Regions from separate parts of the Homo sapiens genome. Here region 2 is linked to region 1. Evidence: promoter capture Hi-C in human tissues and cell types (Jung and others, 2019). All regions are on one chromosome and are shown on one strand. Each heading gives the region's core, a stretch centred on a gene start or on the middle of the fragment in contact. The rest is flanking DNA. Distances are from core to core; before and after follow the strand shown.

Region 1 (3,619 bases), core at 347-2,846:
AAAAGAGGATTTCTTTGCTCCAGGGAAACATTTAATTATGCACAAATCATCTTGGAATTTTTAATCCACCAAGCTGACACTGTATTTTTAAAACAATACCATCAGCCATCTCCAAATGATAGCAAATTTACGGGAAAACAGTCGTAAGAAAAAGATGAGACCGGGGTTATTATTAAAAATTCAGACACCTTTTTTTCTCCCACTTTCTCAATGTGTTAACTGTTTAAGCTTCTGCCTCCCCTTCCTCAGCTGTTCCCTTCTGCAAAGCGATGAATAAATACATGTTTCCATCTGAATATTTTGCAGGCGCAAGGTAAACAGACTCGTTCGCTCCAGGCTGGGTGACAGAGCCTCGCGCGGAAGGTTGAGGCGGTGCGGGGGCGGGGGGGGGTCCCCTTCCCTCTCTCCTCCGGGTCGGAGCCAAGCCGGCCCCTCCTCCCCTCCTCGCCCCTGCCTGGAGACCTCACTTGGCCCGGCCTCCGCCAACCCACCACGCCGCTTCCCGGTTCGGACGCAGCCGCTGTTCTGGTGACTCGGGTGCTGCCGCCGGCCCTTCTCAAGCCGCCCAGGCTTTTGGGGGGCAGTTACCCACCCCGCTGTCCGTGAGGGGCCGAGCCCCAGAACCCCCACCCCTCCACTCTTCCCCAGCAGGCGAGCGCGAAGCGGGCCCGCGGCAAGGGGACGATATCTCGCCACCTGGAACAAAGGCGTCCCGGCGCGCCCAGAGCCTGGGGTCCGGATGGCAGATCCGGGAGCGACGCCGGGTCTTTACCTGAACTCGGGACTCGACCAGGTCTAGGCGCAGCGCCAGCGCCTCGCGCATGAACACGTCGGGATAGTGGCTCTCGTTGAACGCCTTCTCCAGCTCCTCCAGCTGCCAGCCGGTGAAGTTGGTGCGGGTGCGCCGCCGCTTGCAGCCCGGGCTCTCCTTGTCCGGGTCCCCCGAGTCTGCGGGCAGTCACAGGACGCAGCGCGGCTCAGCCACCGGCCCAGGCCCGACCCCCACCCCTCCCTCCCGCTACCCGCTGGCCGCCTGGATCCGGGGGGGGGGGCGCAGAGACGGCCGCCTAGGAGCCGGCTCTCCTTCGCCAGCCCCGGGCCCCCCAGCGCCTCGGCCGGACCAGGGCCCCCGCCCCCAGCCGCACTCCTCCCCGCCCTCCCGCCCGCCGCGCCTACCTGACAGCTTGAAGGGCTGGCCGTCCCCGCCGACCCCGCAGGCGGCTGGCAGCAGCGGCGTGGGGTTGACCACCGAGGCGGCGGCGGCGCACGAGCCCCCGAGCAGGCCGTCGATGGAGAAGGGCACCGAGGCGGCGGCGGCGGCCGACTGCAGCTGGTGCCCGGCCAGCTCGTACACGTGGTGGTGGCCCAGCGGGTAGGGGAAGCCCACCACGCCGCCCAGCGAGCCCCCGAACTGGGCATGCGGGTGTTCCAGGAGGCGGCCGTCCATCATCTCGCGCGGGGGGCCGGCGGGGCCGGTGGCGGGGCGCGGGGGCGCGGGCCGGGGCCGGGGCGGGCCAGCGGCGGGAGGCGCGGGCGGCGGCGGCGGAGACAGGGACCCGGAGCCCCACACATGCTTCGCCCGCACTCCGGCGCTTTACTTATCAACATCAAGCTCCCGATAATTAGCCGCGGCCCGGGGAATTTGGGACCAATAAGAAGCGCTAATCGGCTCTGACGTCAGAGGCGTGCTGGGTGCAGGGAAACGTTTTCCATATCGATTGCTAATTATACCTGACATGCACCTCAATAAACAGTATCAGGAACTGTCACAACAAGACGGGCTGGGGGCGGGGGGAGCCGGAGGGAGGGAGGGAGGGAGGGAGGGGCCGCCCAGGGCCGGGCAGGCGCGGGCTGGTGCCTGGGCCCGGGGCAGGGGCCCCCAGCTAGCCCCCCACTTCACTCGGGGCCGGCCCCGAGCCCGCGCCTCCCGCCAGCCGCCGCCTCCCCGCCCCTCCGCAAATCACTAATAGATTTCCCTTTAAAACATTCAGCGCCGTGTTGTGGGGATTTTTCACCAGAAATGCTGTACTCTCTGAACCTTTAAAGTGATGTTGCTCCAATTACAGAGAGACATTGAGCGGCAAATAGACTGATCCAATAATAGGAGATTCATCATCCGCTTTTCCGAAACTGTCACATTGAATTTAAAACTACAAGGCTTCTCATCTCCTCCTCTCCGGCTGCAGGCGGCGGGAGAGGAGGAAGGAGGAGGAGGAGGAGGAGGAGGGCGATCCCGAAAGAGAAGAACTACAGAATGTAGCACCCTGTCAATAAAGAGGCGTAACTAATGCCCTCTCTGATTGACTGGCAGTCGCCCTATCTACAAAGACAGAGGTGGGGGGGGCTGCGGAGGCTCCCCGACCCCCATCCCCATAAAGCCCGGGCGCAGAGGAGGAGAGAGGGATGGGGACAGGAGGGGAAAAGTAACTTTGGGGTGGGGCCGATCCGCCCCCACCCCCTTACACGCTCGAATAAAGATAAATACATCCGCTCTGACTCGGCCTCTGAAGGATGGGGCTGAAGCACCCAACCCATTTATTATAATTAAATTATGTTCTCAGAGAAGTGTCACTCCCTTCTCTGCTATAAAATATTGATAGACTCAAAGCTAAATCACTAAAGGATATATTCTTAAATAAGCAGCAAATCAGGATTGTGGGCAGCAAGGAAAGAAATGAGGGGATGTCGGTCCATCTCTCTCCTTTGTAAAAAAGTTTGTCAGTGGGGTGGTCGCATTTGGCTGCGGGACCCCAGTGCTGGACTAGTTGGGTTAGGGCCACCTCTCCAGCAGTGAGTGCCCCGAGCCTCGGCCAGCCCAGGGCGGGGAAGAGAGGAGGAGAGCTCCGGCCTGGGCTGGGCCAGTCTGCGGAGCCACCACCACCCCAGGGCAAAGTGACAGACCAGTTGGCTTTGGGTGTAAGTAAGTGACTTGGGCCAGGCCTCCAAGCCCTAGCCCGCGTGAGAGGGAAGGGCAGGCCGGGACCGTGCGCATCTCTGCGTCCCTCCGGGTCAGGTGCCCGTGCCTGGGCCGGGGAGGGTGGGGGGTGCCGGAAACGCTCAGGAGGGGAATGCTTGGGTTGGCGGGCGCAAGGCCACCCCGTCCTGCCACACGACTGCCTGTCCCTGCGACTGGACCCACAGTCTGGCCCTGTTCCTAACTGAAGGTCGTGGACGGGCCGATCCACGCTGACTCCGACTTCAATGACCCTCTTGTCTCTCCTTGCGGGAGAGGAGGGGACGGCGCAGGGTTGAGGACCAGGCCCAGCCAATCCAGGAGACCGAGAGGCGGCCTGGAATTTGGGGAGCCCCCTCCCTGTTTCCAGTCTCACTAGGAAAACGCTGCGAGTATTCATTCCGAGGTCAGAGGCCAAGAGCACTACTTTTCGCCATAATTTAATTTCTGTCTCTATAAATACTAAATGTAAACTCCGTCCATCCGACTCGATTTCGCCAGCAGCCACAAGCGCCTGGTCTTCTGTTGGGTTCGCGAGGAGGAATGCGCGCGGCGCGTGTTTCTGAATACAGAGCTGTAATCTATTCGGCCCGGGGGGAGGGCAGAGGAGGGGCGCGCGCCGGCCGAGCTCCCTCGCCCATCTCTCTTTATTATAATGAATTAATT
Region 2 (3,690 bases), core at 1,009-3,508, 160 kb before region 1:
GTTTTCAGACCCCACTGCTGACCTATAACTTGGGGGCCACCCGTATGAGGACACACCTCACCCCTGGGCTGCTGGAGAAATCTGGGAGCTGTTGTCTATCTGGGTGGTGACCAACACTGGCTACGGAAGCAGGTCCTTCGCCCCAGCCTGGCTCTGGTGGCCCTGTGACCCGGTCCTCTTTGTCTTCTAACAGTTTATTAAGACATAATTCACCTACCATACCACCCACTTGCTTATTTTATGTTATTTATTTATTTTTGAGATGGAGTCTTGCTCTGTTGCCCAGGCTAGAATGTAGTGGCACGATCTTGGTTCACTGCAACCTCCACCTCCTGAGTTTAAGGGATTCTCGTGCCTCAGCCTTCCAAGTACCTGGGACTACAGGCACGCACCACCATGCCCGGCTAATGTTTGTAGTTTTTGTAGAGACGGGGTTTCGGCATATTGCTCAAGCTGGTCTTGAACTCCTGACCTCAAGTGATCTGCCCACCTTAGCCTCCCAAAGTGCTGAGATTACAGGTGTGAGCTACTGTGCCCGGCCCCACTCACTCTTTTAGAATGTATAATTTGGTGATTTTTTTTTTTTGAGTCAAGGTCTCTCTGTAGCCCAGGCTGGAGTGCAGTGGTGCAATCATACCTCACTGCAGCCTTAACCTCCAGGGCTCAGGCGATCCTTCCACTTTAGCCTTCCGAGCAGCTGGGACTACAGATGCATGCTACCACCATGCCCAGCTAATTTTTGTATTTTTTGTACAGACAGGGTTTTGCCATGTTGCTGAGGCTGATCTTGAACTCCCAGGCTCAAGCAATCTGCCTTCCTCAGCCTCTCAAAGTGCTGGTAATACAGGCACGCACCACCGCACCCGGCTAATCTTTGTATTTTTTTTTTTAGAGATGTCATCTCGCTATGTTACCCAGGCTGGTCTTGAACACTTGGGTTCAAGCAATTCGCCTGCCTTGGCCTCCCAAAGTGCTGGGATTATAGGCATGAATCACCACACCCAGCCCCAGTATTTTTTTTTTTTTTTAGTATATCCACAGAGTTGTGCAACCATCATCACTGTCTAATTTCAAAACATTTTTATCTCCTCTAAAATAAACCTCATGCCCATTGAGCAGTTACTGTCCATTTCTACCTCTCCCCTCCCCTTGGCAACATCATTCTACCTTCTGTCTCTGTAGATTTGCCTATTTGGAAATTTCACATAAATGGGAGCATTCAATATGTGGTCTTTTGTGTCCGTGTTCTTTCACTTTGTGTAATGTTTCCAAGGTTCACCCAGGCTGTGGCATGTATCAGAGCTCCATTCCTTTTCATGGCTCAGTAATATTCCACTCTGTGGATCTACCACCTTGTGTTTATCCATATTCATCCCCAGATGGACACCTGGGTCGCTCCCACCTTTTAGCTCTTGTGAATAGTGCTGCCGTGAACATTCAGGTACACGTTTTTCTGTGGCCGTATGGTCCCAATTCCATTCAAACCTAGTACTGGAAGTGCTGAGTCATATGGTGACACAATCCTGAACATTTCCAGGAATGGCCAGGCTGTTTTCTGCAGCAGCTGCAGTGGTTCACGTTCCCGCTGGCACGGCATGAGAATTCTGATTCCTCCACATGCTCACCAGCACTTGTTGCTGTCTTTTTCACTGTAGCCATCTTAGGGAGGGAAGTGACACCGCACCGTGGCTTTGATTTGCATTTCCCAGGTGCTTTAACTGATGGCTGCTGTCTGCACTTGGGGCCATTAGCATACCAAACTCCCACTGGCTGAACCTGACACAATGAAAATGTCTGCTCAACATTTTACTTTAGTTCAAAAAGCGAACTGGGCTGAGCACAATGGCTCACGTCTGTAATCCCAGCCCTTTGGGAGGCCAAGGTGGGCAGATCACCCGAGGTCAGGAGTTTGAGACCAGGAGTTCGAGGCCAACATGGCGAAACTCCCTCTCTACTAAAAATACAAAAAATTAGCCAGGCGTGGTGGTGCGCACCTGTAATCCCAGCTACTCGGGAGGCTGCAGCAGGAGAATCACTTGAACCTGGGAAGTGGAAGTTGCAGTGAGCCAAGAGGGTGCCACTGCACTCCAGCTGGGGCAACAGTGAGACTTTGTCTCAAAAAAAAAAAAGAAAGAAAGAAAGAAAGAAAAGCTAACTGTGTGCATATGCGTTTGTGTATATTTTGGGAAAACTCCACTGATGGGCAAAGGCCCTGAGTGACGCTAGGCCCTGGCTAAATGGTGTGCAGCTGTGGGGGCCTTGGCTGCTCTCGGGCTGATCTGGGGTGCAACGTTGCCCATGCTGCTCACCCGATCGTCATGGTCACCGGGGTGCTCGTTATATCTGCAGGTGTGTGTGCGTTCATAGGTATGGGGAATCTCTGGAAGGGCCCATAGCAAACCATGACATGGACATTGGCCATTGGAGGGGAGCTGGGTGGGGAATCTCTGGAAGGGCCCATAGCACAACGTGACATGGACATTGATTATTGGAGGGGAGCTGGGTGGCTGGGGACAGAGTGGGATGAGCATTTTTCTCTGTAAACCTCCTCTCCCTAAGAAAGCCAAGTGAATACATTATTGGCATATAGTGCGCATTCCAGAAAGTGCCTGCAGCCTCAGCAGCACAATGAACTTCACAAAGTGAACAGGGCCAGGTGACCACCCCCTGGACAACAGCGGGAACGAGGCCAGCCCCCTGCAGGCTCCCTCATGCCCCTCCCAGCCCACAATACCCCATCCCCCGACACACTGAGATGCCCATTTTCCTGGAAACTTTATCCGTCAGAATGCTGCCTGTTCCTGAACTTCCTGACTGGGATTGCACAGTTGCTGCCTCCTATGCTGTGAGACTCACCTATGTGGTTTGTGCACCCCTCCGGTGCCCTTTTTCACTGCTGCATAGTATTCCATCGTGTGACTAGAGCACAATTTATTTACCCATTCTCCTGTTCATGGAGGTTTGGACATTTCCGGTTTCTGGTTATTTTGAGAAGCATTTTCTTCTTTTAGGGGCACACAGAGACCTTTCCCTACTTTGAAAATCTCAAGGCTTGTGACCACATTAGCTATTTAACAAATAAATAAGTTGAAAAATGTGAATGTGAGGTCCGGAGGTCTAGATTCCTCAGGGCTGGAGATGGGTCCAGGGATCTGCTTCCTCAGTGGTCATGCAGGTCTGGCAGCCAGGGCTGGAGGCCTGGCCACTGGGGGTGCAGGCCCAGAGTGCAGTGTGAGGCTGAGGGGTTGTGCCAGCTCTGCTGTCCCCAGACTCAGCCGAGGACTGAAGAACACTTCCCCCGACACTGGGCGGGATCCTGGGCAGCCAACCCTCCCGAGCAGAGCCCCGTCTGGGACCCAGACCCAGGGGTAGCCTGAGAGAGGAGGCTGGGAGCCTGCCCCCGGGCCCCCCTGGCCACGTGACGCCTGGCAAGCCTGCAGGCTGGTGCTTCTCTGCATGGGTAACAGCAGAGCTCTGGGCTCCCGTGTCTTCTTCCAGGGATTTGGGGGTGTCCCACAGCCCAGAGAGGGACACTGTTCTTCTTTTAATCTGGCTGTTGGAGTGCGTATTGGAAATGGTCTTCTTTAGCACTTCGTTAAACACTTTAGTTAATAGCAGCCTCCAGGGGATCCCACCGGAAGTCCTGTGGGCGGGAAGCACGCAGCTGCATCAATTAACCCTGGCGGTCTC

The links. The method cuts DNA at HindIII sites, captures the fragments that hold promoters and counts their contacts. A contact is called where the count stands out against the background at its distance.
Region 2: a contact is called between a fragment that was not itself captured here and the fragment with the promoter of UNCX in region 1, in 1 of the 25 tissues and cell types used here (dorsolateral prefrontal cortex).

The regions. Positions count from the first base shown.
Region 1 is chr7:1,230,849-1,234,467 of GRCh38, reverse strand. It overlaps UNCX (UNC homeobox), which reads right to left and starts at 1,596. Exons shown (of 3, transcript NM_001080461.3): 1 at 1,177-1,596; 2 at 773-948. The coding sequence starts at 1,450. RefSeq lists an enhancer at 47-591. The HindIII fragment of the contact is 11,886 bases long and covers 1-3,619 here.
Region 2 is chr7:1,395,531-1,399,220 of GRCh38, reverse strand. No RefSeq gene overlaps it. Among named protein-coding and RNA genes, the nearest start is that of MICALL2, 62 kb to the left of the region's middle. The HindIII fragment of the contact is 6,630 bases long and covers 1-3,690 here.